4 separate regions of the Homo sapiens genome follow, and all the other regions are linked to region 2. The links are contacts of gene promoters, found by promoter capture Hi-C in blood cells and fetal thymus (Javierre and others, 2016). All regions are on one chromosome and are shown on one strand. The core of a region is centred on a gene start or on the middle of the fragment in contact, and the rest is flanking DNA. Distances in the headings are between cores, read along the strand shown.

Region 1 (2,718 bases), core at 66-2,565, 1.2 Mb after region 2:
GCATATCACACCATAATTGTGAAGCAACTGTTACAACAAGAATAAAAAAAACTACTCATCTGGAACATGCAACAAAAAATGGAGCAATCATATTTATGGTTAGCAATAAATAAATAAAGGTCCTTGGCTAACAAACTCAGCTTTCCCAAAAGGAAAAAAACCTGAAGGCTCACAGTAAACTATCATGTTAAGAAAAAGCAGTGGGGGAATGGGAGTGGGAGGGAAAGGATTAGGTAAAGGCATGTATTTTATAGAAAAGGACATTAGGCCTCATTTGCTTGGTGAATCTGTGGAAATAATTTATGATATTCTATACAAGGAATTATGACTCCATCCTGAACAGACTGCTTATCTCCCCATGGCTCTTCACAAGCAAGAAAGGGCATGCTCATGACTCTTTGACTTTAGTGTTAACATTGATTTTATAATTACAATAATATTGGATACCAAGGTCCTCAAGGGAATTAGACATGGACAGTATTTGCCAGAGATAAAATATTCATCACCAACAGAGTATATAAAATGTATCTGAGAGGATCAGGGCTCACTTGGGACCCACACAAGAGGAATAAGACATCACCAGAAAAATGCAAGAATTCTCTGATATGTAAAAATCTGAAACAAAGAATGTCAGTCTTAACAAATTCTGCACATATTAAAATAAGACCTCATTGTCACATAATCTGGGGGCATTCCAGTAGGGCAGAGAATAAAAAATTGACCTGAAATTTTCTTAGAGGGCTTCCAAAGCAAATACATAACAAGGCCCACAGCTCTCTTTTTAATCCTATTAATTTTAAATTTCTTACAAATCACAAACTTCTCTTTGCCTAAGGTTTACGTCTCAAGCTAACCATTTTTTTTGTGCAATCTTTAGGGTTTTCTACATACAGGTTCATGTCACTGGCAAAGTCAATGTGCAAAAATCAGTTGCATGTCTGTACACTAATAATTAACAACCTGAAAAGGAAATTATGAAAATAATTCCATTTATAATAGCACGTAAAAGAATAAGACACTTAAGAACTAACTTAACCAAGGAGGTGAAAAGCTTGTACAATAAAAGCCACAAAACATTGCTGAAAGAAATTAAAGAAGATACAAATAAATGGAAACACATCCCATGTTCATGGACAAAAGACAATAATGTTAATCTGTCAACACTACCCAAATGGATTCAATGCAATCCTATCAAAATCTAAATAATTTTTTTATGGAAATAAAAAAGCCCATCCTAAAATTCATATAGAATCACAAATGACAAAACAATCTTGAAAACAAAGAACAAAGCTGGAGCTCCAGACTTACACATACAGATTTCAAAACAAACGTCCGGTAATCAAAAGAACATGTTATTAGCATAAACACAGACATATAGACCAATGAAATAGAATAGAGATCCCCAAAATAAACCTTTGCATATGTGGTCAAATGATTTTGGGCAAGGGTGAAAAGATCATTCAGTGGGAAAGAACAGTCTTTTCAACAGATGGTGCTAGGAAAACTGGATATGCACACACAAAAGAATAAAGTTGTACCCTTACCTAATGCCATATACAAAAGTTAACTCCAAATGAATAAAAGCTTTAAATGTAAGACCTAAAAGTATAAAAAACATAGAAACATAGAAAGTTTTTTCTTAGAAAAAAACACAGGGCAAATGCTTCATGACATTGAATTTGGCAATAATTTGTTGGACATGATACCACAGACACAGATGAAAAAAGAAACAATAGGCAAATTGAACTTTATCAAAACTAAAACATTTGGTACAACAAAAGAAAATGTCAATAGTGTAAAAAGTTAGTCCATAGAATGGGAAAAAATATTTTTAAATCATATCTCTAATAAGAGATCAATGTCTGGAATATGTAGACAACTCCTAAAACTGAACAATAAAAAAACTGTTCAAAAATGGACAAAGAATTTGAAAAGACATTCCTCCAAAGAAGATATACAAAAGGCTAATTAAGTACATGAAAAGATGCTCAATATCACTAATCATCAGGAAAATACAAATCAAAACTACAGTGAGGGCTAGGTGTGGTGGCTCACGCCTGTAATTCCAGCACTTTGGGAGTCAAGGCAGGTGGATCACTTGAGGTCAGGAGTTCGAGACCAGCCTGGCCAACACGGTGAAACCCCGTTTCTACTAAAGATACAAAAAAATTAGCCAGGTGTGGTGGTATACACCTGTAATCTCAGCTACTCAGGAGGCTGAGGCAGAAGAATTGCTTGAACCCAGGAGGTGGAGGTTGCAGTGAGCCAAGATCACCCCACTGCACTCCAGCCTAGGTGATAGAATGAGACGTTGTCTCAAAAAAAAAAAAAAAATTACAGTGAGATATCATTAGGATGGCCACTGTCTTAGACTGTTCCTGTTGCTCCAACAAAATACGTAATTTACAAAGAACAGAAGTTCATTTTCTCACAGTTCTGGAGGCTGGAAAGTCCAGGATCAAAGCACTGGCATTTTGTGTCTGGTGAGGGCCTTCTGCTACATCTTCACATGGCAGAAGACAGAAGGATGAAAAGGGCCTAGCTAGTTTCCTGGAAGCATTGGATAAAGGTATTAATCCCATTCATAAGGCCATAGCCCCCAGACTTAATAACCTCCTGAAGGCCTCACCTTTTAATACCATCACATTGGGTCTTAGGTTCCATCATATGAATTTTGGGGAGGACATGCACATTCAAACCATAACAGCTACTATCAGA
Region 2 (2,855 bases), core at 233-2,732:
GAGCGTCAAAATCGTGTCACCGGTTAGTGAGCAGCCACCTAAGAGCTCTCAGGTGATAGCCGGAGTTTTAGTAAGCAGGTGAGTACCCCAGACAATTCAGAAAAAAATGCCTTCAGGTGTTTGTCAAGGTGAGTAAGTGCAGCCAGTAAGTGACTGATAAGAAAACAGGAAAGAGCCTGGGACTATATAATTTGGGTTCAAAGGGTATTAGTCATAAGCCATCAGCAGCAACATCTGATGCATACCAATTTAATACTTTAACAATGTGACACATCAGCCCTATCTATAGTAAAGAGAAGAGCTTGATTTTTATGAATTATTAAGTCCTTCCCACCTTGAGCCACTTTGCTTCCTAGAGGCAGTATCTCAGGCATCCCATTCAGCTCATAGTAGCATTCCATGAAGATCTGGAATGATGACAATAATGATGATTATTAGACTCATAACTCCTTAAGCTTGATTTATGAAAACAGTTCGTTCCTTCACAAAAGTAGTCACTGGAAGAATTCTGGTTTCAGCAATGTGCTGGAAATTTGTGGCCAAACTTTTGGATAAAACATAAGATTCAGACAAGAAAAATTAATATCCTATTTCTTAGGTTTTTAACTAAAAATCTCGGATATAGAATGTTCTCTTTCCAGATGTGAGACTGAAATAATGGAAGAAAATGGTCACAGTCTATGTCATGGTGTAATGTAGACAGGGAGAGTCACAAGTGCATGTATGGGCTCTCAGCCTTTTCTCTGGCCTTGAAGTTAATCTCCTAAACTCAGTCATTAAATCAGCTCTTAATTATCTCGGAGGAGAGGAAGTAATGATGATTTCTCTCTCTCTGTCTCTCTGTCACACACACACACACACACACAGCTCTTGCAGCAGGTATTGCTTAAATATCACCTTGGATAATCATAACTTGTGAGCAGATCTTCTTTCCTGATGAGTTAGTTTCTAACCTGGTCATTCTGCGCTTATTTTTGTCCCTTTCTCCACCCACTTAGGAAAAACAGAGAAAGGGACGCACCGCGCAGCCCCTAGGCACTGTGGTTTAGGGCTAGTGCCCTCGGCACCCGCTGCCAGGAGCCGGGCGCTGCCAAGGGCTGCGGAGGGGCCACGTTCTCCCGGGGACTGGGGCATCTCCTGCGTGCTGGCGACAGGCTGCGGGGGCGGAGTGGTGCCAGGGCGGGCGCTCGCCCGTCGGATATGCCCACCCGTCCCGTCCAGGGCAGGAAAGCCTGCCAGGGCGCCATCCCCATCCCCACCGCCTCCAGGCTGCCGGGGCTGGGCCGCTGTACGGGAGCCAAGGTGCGGTGCCCCGCGTGTGGACGAGCCGAGGTGCAGCCCGCGGGGCCGCAGGGCCGGGGTGGGGCGGGGCGCGGCCGGAGCAGATCCGGTGTTTGCGGAATCAGGAGGGGCGGGCTGGGGCGGGCCCTCGGCGCTGCAGGAGCTGCCCAGAAACTTTTCCCTGCTCTCACCGGGCGGGGGAGAGAAGCCCTCTGGACAGCTTCTAGAGTGTGCAGGTTCTCGTATCCCTCGGCCAAGGGTATCCTCTGCAAACCTCTGCAAACCCAGCGCAACTACGGTCCCCCGGTCAGACCCAGGATGGGGCCAGAACGGACAGGGGCCGCGCCGCTGCCGCTGCTGCTGGTGTTAGCGCTCAGTCAAGGTAAGCGGGGATTTCGCTCTGCATCGGCTGCAGGAGGGACCCGCGCGGCTTCCTGGGGCTCGCTGGAGGGATTGGGCGGAACTAGGGAGCGAGCTCCGTGTGTTCCCTCGGATTCCACGTGGACTCGGGCTCCCAGCCACCAGGACCTGCTTGGAAAGAGATACTTCTTCGTTCCCTTCCTGCTATCCCAGGCCTTGCGTCCCCATTAGGCGCGTCTCGCCCTGTCTGTTAAGCACCCTCCAAAGTCATCTCAGTGAGTGCTTTGTTTTAGGTACACACACGCACACACACACACACACACACAGACAGACACGCACGCACTCAAGCATGGACAGTGTGGGGATCCGCGGGTGTCCTGGAGACCGCGAGTCCTGCAGCCCAACTTCCCCTGGCTCAGACAGGTGCCGCGCCTGCCAGAGACCAGGGAAATCCGGAATCCATTGCTGATGGCGGCCTGCAGCTCCCCAGCGCGGTGCTTGCTGGCTTTGCAGAAGCCTGCGAGCCCCAAAATGCTTATTTTTCAACCCAAGGATGTGAATAATGCCTCTATTTCTTACTTGAGGACGAAGCGCTGTGTTTCTTCCCGGGGGGACTTGGAATAAACCAAGCGCCACTTAAATACTTGGCAGAGGGGAATTCTTCCTTCCCTTCTGCCTTCCTCTTATTGTTGTAACATTGTCTATTCGACGAATGTAAACTTAGGCTAGGAAAAGTTCTTTTCACTTCTGGATCCTAGATGCCGCAATGAGAGAATAAGCCGGAGCAGCCGCTCTAACTGTAGTGCTGTGGCAGTGGGGCCCGCCCACCTCCTGAGTTCTTTTACACTAAGAGGAGGAAATAAGGCTGGGGTGGAGAGCTTTTGTGGGACCATCGCCTGAGTACTTTTTCCCTGACCATTAGGCAGAGCTAGAGTGTGGTCAAATTTAAGAATTTTAGTTTATTTGGAGGGAGAAGGAGACACGTTTGTATAATGTAGTTTGAACAGCGATCAAAACAAAACAAAAAAGTTGTCTCTGATTTTAAAGTGTGTGTGTGGTTTTTTTTTTTTTTTTTTACAAAGAAGATAAATATTTCCTAAGCTGTCCTCCTTTGAGACTGACATTCAGCCACTTGCTATTCTTTATTGTGGAGGAATGAATCCTAGTCCACGTCAACCTGGTGGCATTTTCTCCAGGTCAGAGATAAGAGAGAA
Region 3 (2,700 bases), core at 160-2,659, 1.3 Mb after region 2:
TTAGAACACTGGCACAGAGTAAGTGTTCAATAAATGTTAACTGATTTTGCCCTCCTGATTATAACTCATATACTTATCTCCTCTCACCCCCGACCTGAGCACTGCCCACATGCCAACAAGCATGTGGCTTTGGCATCTTTCAGAATGCAAGCCCCTGGAGGGCATGAATCAAGGTCCCTATGTGTCCTCTCCTAGGGCTCATACTGTTAGACTGGAGCCACAGAAGTTTGGGAACCAGACTTAACACCTTTGTAGAAAAGTTCCTACCTAATGGTACGGATTTGCTCAAAACATTTTTGCTATATGAACTCCATATATGGTAGATCTGTTTATTGTGCTCAGATAATTTTTATCTTATAAATTATTAAGAAAGGAATATTTAATATGACTGCCTAATCCACTCGACATTTAGACTAAAAAGTGACCTACATTATCACTTTAAAGTTAGTCACAATAAATACAACTTACAATGTTCATAGATATTCAGGGTTAAAAACAACGAAACAATGTACTTTTTTTTTTATCAATAAAGAAGTTCAGTTCACAGATAACTGAACATAATATGAAATCACAAATGTACCTTCACTCCTCTTTTCAAGTAGGATCCTTTACAATTTCATAGTGCCTGTGGGCTCTACCCTTTGTAGCACATCATGGGTTTCTATTGTTGGTTAGTTAGCTGGTTTTTATCCTGCAAATGGTGACAGATTTGTGATGATCAACCCAATTCTCTCACCACATCTTCCCCACTGAGACATACATTTTTATGATGGCAGATACAGCCTATAACCAAGAAACTAAATAGGTCAAGTCCACCAGTCTATACAAAGAAATCTTATTAAACTAACCTATCAAATCTAATCTTATTAAATCCCAAACACTGGCAGGGCACGGTGGCTCACTCCTGTAATCCCAGCACTTTGGGAGGTCGAGGCAGGTGGATCACCTGAGGTCAGGAGTTTGAGACCAGCCTGGCCAACATGGTGAAACCCCGTCTCTACTAAACATACAAAAATTAGCTGGGCATGGTGGTGGGCACCTGTAATCCCAGCTACTTAGGAGGCTGAGACAGGAGAATCACCCCATTGCACTCCAGCCTGCATGACAAGAGCAAAACTCTGTCACAAAAAAAAAATAAATAAATAAAAAATCCCCAACACGGTACAGTAGTTTCCCCTCATCCATGGGGGATATATTCCAAGTCCCAGTGGATACCTAAAACCACAGATAGTACTGAGCTATCATAGAACTAACTAACATAGCACAGAGCACACTATATTTTTTCCTATACACACACACCTATGATAAAGTTTAATGTGTAAATTAGGCATAGTAAGTGATTAATAATAACTAATAATAAAAGTGAACAATGATAACAATATACAGTAATAAAAGTTATATGAATGTGGTCTCTCTCTCTCTTAAAATATCTTATTGTACTTTACTCACTTATTTTGAGACCTCGGTGGACCATGGTTAACTGAAACCTTGAAAAGTAAAACCGTGGATGGGAGGGTGGAGGCTACTATAAACAAATGCAATGAATATTAATTGACAATTAGCATCCAAGACTAATCAACCATTTTTACTTGTCACATTTTCAAGTCTAAGTTTATATTTTAGTTCACAATAAAACACACAAAATGAGAGAAATGTACTAGAAAGCAAAGAAGCACATCAGAAGCTACCCCCTCCCCTATGTGCCTTACTTAACCTGTCCTGCCACAGGTTCCTCTAGAGCCACACGACTGCCAGTCCTGCAGTCAAGGAGGATATTACAGCTGAGGGTTCATCCCGCATGACTTTCAGGGCCATGCAGAAAGTAAGGGCTCCATAAATATTTGTTGAATAGATAAATTATTCAAATGGGTTTTATTTTCGTAGCTTTTAAAAGATTCTTAAAAGAGTCTTGTGACTTCCTGCTTGTTGATTACAACTCCCAGTATTTCCATAAATTGAGACTAGTTTAAAAGGTATTTCAATACCACTAAGCAGTAACAGTCATTCTACAGGAGGTATAAAAGTAACATCAGCAACATAATCACAATACGTTAACTTTTTTTTTTTTTTTTTGTCTTGAGACGGAGTCTCACTCTGTCGCCCAGGCTGGAGTGCAGTTGTGCGATCTCACTGCAACCTCTGCCTCCTGGGTTCAAGCGATTCTCCTGCCTCAGCCTCCCAAGTAGCTGAGATTACAGGCATGCGCCACGACACCCAGCTAATTTTTCTATTTTAAGTGGAGATGGGGTTTCTCCATGTCAGCCAGGCTGGTCTCAAACTCCTGACCTCAAGTGATCCGCCTGTCTTGCCCTCCCAAAGTCCTGGGATTACGGGCGTGAGCCACCTCGCCCAGCCACACAATACGTTAACATTTTATATTTGAAAAGCAACGTACTGTTTACAAATGGCTTTCCCTCCACTATCTCATTTAATCATCATAGGTATTACACAGAGTACAACCAATTCTACCACTGTTGTTTTGATGGCGCAGAGGGAAAAAAGGTTAATTCCAGATCAATCATCACATGAGTCAAGACAGAAAATTTTGAACTGAAAGGAATCTAGAAGTTGATCTTGTCCAACCTCCCAGGAAAACTCGAGAAATGTGTTTTTCTCTTTCATTTTAACCTGACTATTTTCTCCTACCTTATCCAAAAAGCTCTGCACATTGTGTTACTAGTTCTACCTATGAGAAGAAAG
Region 4 (2,700 bases), core at 147-2,646, 1.2 Mb after region 2:
GCAAAGAGGCATAACAAGTAAAATTAACAAAAATATGCTTTTTCTTTGTTATTAAGTATTCTTCTAAAAAGCAAGACATTTTTAAACGTACCCACTTCAAAATATATTGTAAGATTCTGTGACACAGGCATCATTACCATAAAATCCTCCCAATCAAATTATAATTTTCTTTTTCATGAACTATATTTCTTAAGCAAGGCAAGAACATTTTATTAAAAATAATGCCTATTATCTATTTTATTTTACTATAATCCACTCACTTTCCAGCCAATTTGCTCCGAATATTCTCTTGGAAACTTGTACTTCAAGACAATGGCTTCACTCATTACGTTATTTCAACAAAATGATAAATGTATTGTGAAATATATTATATTTGATTATCAAGCTAAAGCATTGCAAATGGCCATCACAGAACCCAAATTCACCCATAACATTCTATCCCCCAGAATAGTCCTCTGACAACAAATGATAACTGTACATGACAAATCCTTTGAGGCATCTGGGCCTTAAAAATTAAAGGGCCATTCTGACTAAAGTATGTTGATTTTCCAAAGGAAGTTTTGTTGCAGTTGTTGCTGCTGTTGCTATTATTTGAATTGACTAATCCTCAAGTAGGTTCTAGCCACCCTGAAGAATATTTACAAATACAAATATATTAGAATTGAAAGAGACCTTATATGCCACATAGTTCAATCTCTTTTCCTTGAGATGCAAAACTGTGGCACAGAGAAGTTAATTCAGTTGACAAACAACTCATGGTTAATTCAGTCTCATAGAACCCAATCTAGTGCTTTTTCTGCAATAACACATTACAGAGTCTGCAAAACCAGCACAATTACTACCTGACACTGTCAGCAAACAAAATGAAAATACACATATTTTAATAAGTAGTTTTTGCTTATTTTTGCAGTCACACATAAGATGTTATATCTTTACACAAAACGAAACTAGGATTATTTTTATTGTTCAAAAGACAGACTGTCCAATTATAGCTATTACTGAACTAGAAATGTATTTTCAGTTTATCTTCCCAAATCAAGTTAGTGGTTTGTTTGGTATGCACAAAGTATTCCAAAATGTCACAGAGTGGGGGCTATTGCAGGGTTTTCTCCTGCTTCCACCAGACCACAAAGGGCAACAAGTTTGGAGGGGACAGGAAGGTTGGGAGCAGAATACAAGGAGCTGTAGAGCTGTTCTATCGGTTCAGGTTTTAAGATCCATGAATAGACCCTACTCACCGAGTGAAAGCCCTGACAATTTTATCTGAGCATTAGAAAATAATTCCTTGGGCAGTTAAAAGATTGGAATATCAAAGAGCTGACATTAGTTTTAGGCAGCGCTTAAATGAAACACTTTTTTTTTTTTTTTTTTTTGAGACAGAGTTTCACTTTTGTCACCCAGGCTGGAGTGCAGTGGTGCAATCTCAGCTCACGGCAACCTCTGCCTCCCAGGTTCAAGCGATTCTCCTGCCTCAGCCTCGCGAGTAGCTGGGAATACAGGTGCCCGCCACCATACCTGGCTAATTTTTTGTATTTTTAGTAGAGACAGGGTTTTGCCATGTTGGGCAGGCTGGTCTTGAACTCCTGACCTCAGGTGATCCGACCGCCTCAGTCTCCCAAAGTGCTGGGATTACAGGCACGAGCCACCGTGACCGGCCAAATGAAATACTTTTATACTCTTATCTTACTTTTAAAAAGAATATGATAATCAGAGAGTTCAGGAAGGAAATAAAGAGGAGTAGATAAAGTCCAAAATGAGGAATATGCTTATCTGGAGCACACCTACTTAACCAGAAAAGAGTAATTTGAGTAGGAAGAAATGCCAAGTCACTAATTTGTTTAAGGATCTTGGTTATTGGTTGATTCCATTAGGAATGTGTCTGGCTACAAGTAACAGAAAATTCATGTTAGGTGCTTTAAACGGCATCACCAAACCTAAAGGGCCAGAGAGTAAATATTTAAGACCTGCAGGCCATATAGTCTCCGTCACAATTACTCAACTCTGTCATAGCATGAAGGCAGCCACAGTCAATACGTGGCTGTGTTTCAGTAACACTTTACTTACAAAAATAGGCAATCAGCCAATGGGTCATAATTTGCCAACCAATGGTTTAACCAAAATGTCAATCCCTGGTTTAAACAAATGAGACTTAATTAAAAAGAAGCTGGCCTTTTTTGTAAGGTAGTAAGAAGGGCACATCAGCTCCAGATGTCACATTTCTGTTTAAGAAGAGGAAAAGGGAAAAGGAAGGTAGAAAAGGGAAAAGGCCACATCTGTCCCTTTTCACAGGAAAGCAAAAACTTTCCCCACAGAACCTCAAGCAGACCCCCTCCCCCATAAGATCACTAGTCAGAACCGAGCAACACAGCCACATCTAGTTGTAAGAGAAGCTGAGAAAACAGGGAACACAGGAGTCTAAGTGGCTTAGACCAATCATGGTTCATTCATTGCCTGGGGCTAGACACATTGCTGCCTCAGACCAGGGTATTTTAGCAAGAAGGATAAATGGCTATTGGGTGTACAATGAACAGTGTTTGTCCTGTTGGACTATTTTTTCTGTTTTCTCTATTGGCATAATCTGCTCAAAGAAAATATGCTTTCTTAGCTGTGAACTAATTAGTCAAATGGAGATTGAGAAAGATTAAGCATGTTTGGTGGTAGGGGTGGGGAACAAATAAGAGTGAATCTACTGTTAGCTAC

Evidence for each region. The method cuts DNA at HindIII sites, captures the fragments that hold promoters and counts their contacts. A CHiCAGO score of 5 or more calls a contact.
Region 1: a fragment that was not itself captured here is called in contact with the fragment with the promoter of ITGA2 in region 2 in 1 of 17 cell types (naive B cells); the score reaches 5.3 in naive B cells.
Region 3: a contact is called between a fragment that was not itself captured here and the fragment with the promoter of ITGA2 in region 2, in 2 of 17 cell types (naive CD4 T cells and activated CD4 T cells). The highest score is 5.6, in naive CD4 T cells.
Region 4: a contact is called between a fragment that was not itself captured here and the fragment with the promoter of ITGA2 in region 2, in 2 of 17 cell types (M0 macrophages and naive CD8 T cells). The highest score is 6.7, in M0 macrophages.

The regions. Positions count from the first base shown.
Region 1 is chr5:54,188,075-54,190,792 of GRCh38, forward strand. All of the region lies in intron 1 of ARL15 (ARF like GTPase 15), which reads right to left. Among named protein-coding and RNA genes, the nearest start is that of ARL15, 120 kb to the right of the region's middle. The HindIII fragment of the contact is 533 bases long and covers 1,050-1,582 here.
Region 2 is chr5:52,987,870-52,990,724 of GRCh38, forward strand. It overlaps ITGA2 (integrin subunit alpha 2), which reads left to right and starts at 1,483. Exons shown (of 30, transcript NM_002203.4): 1 at 1,483-1,663. The coding sequence starts at 1,600. It overlaps ITGA2-AS1 (ITGA2 antisense RNA 1), which reads right to left and starts at 2,417. Exons shown (of 4, transcript NR_186583.1): 1 at 2,221-2,417; 2 at 335-407. RefSeq lists an enhancer at 1-822 and a silencer at 1,287-1,436. The HindIII fragment of the contact is 2,612 bases long and covers 454-2,855 here.
Region 3 is chr5:54,304,336-54,307,035 of GRCh38, forward strand. The region is part of intron 1 of ARL15 (ARF like GTPase 15); the gene reads right to left. Among named protein-coding and RNA genes, the nearest start is that of ARL15, 4.9 kb to the right of the region's middle. RefSeq lists an enhancer at 337-1,000. The HindIII fragment of the contact is 5,398 bases long and covers 1-2,700 here.
Region 4 is chr5:54,210,115-54,212,814 of GRCh38, forward strand. All of the region lies in intron 1 of ARL15 (ARF like GTPase 15), which reads right to left. Among named protein-coding and RNA genes, the nearest start is that of ARL15, 99 kb to the right of the region's middle. The HindIII fragment of the contact is 5,856 bases long and covers 1-2,700 here.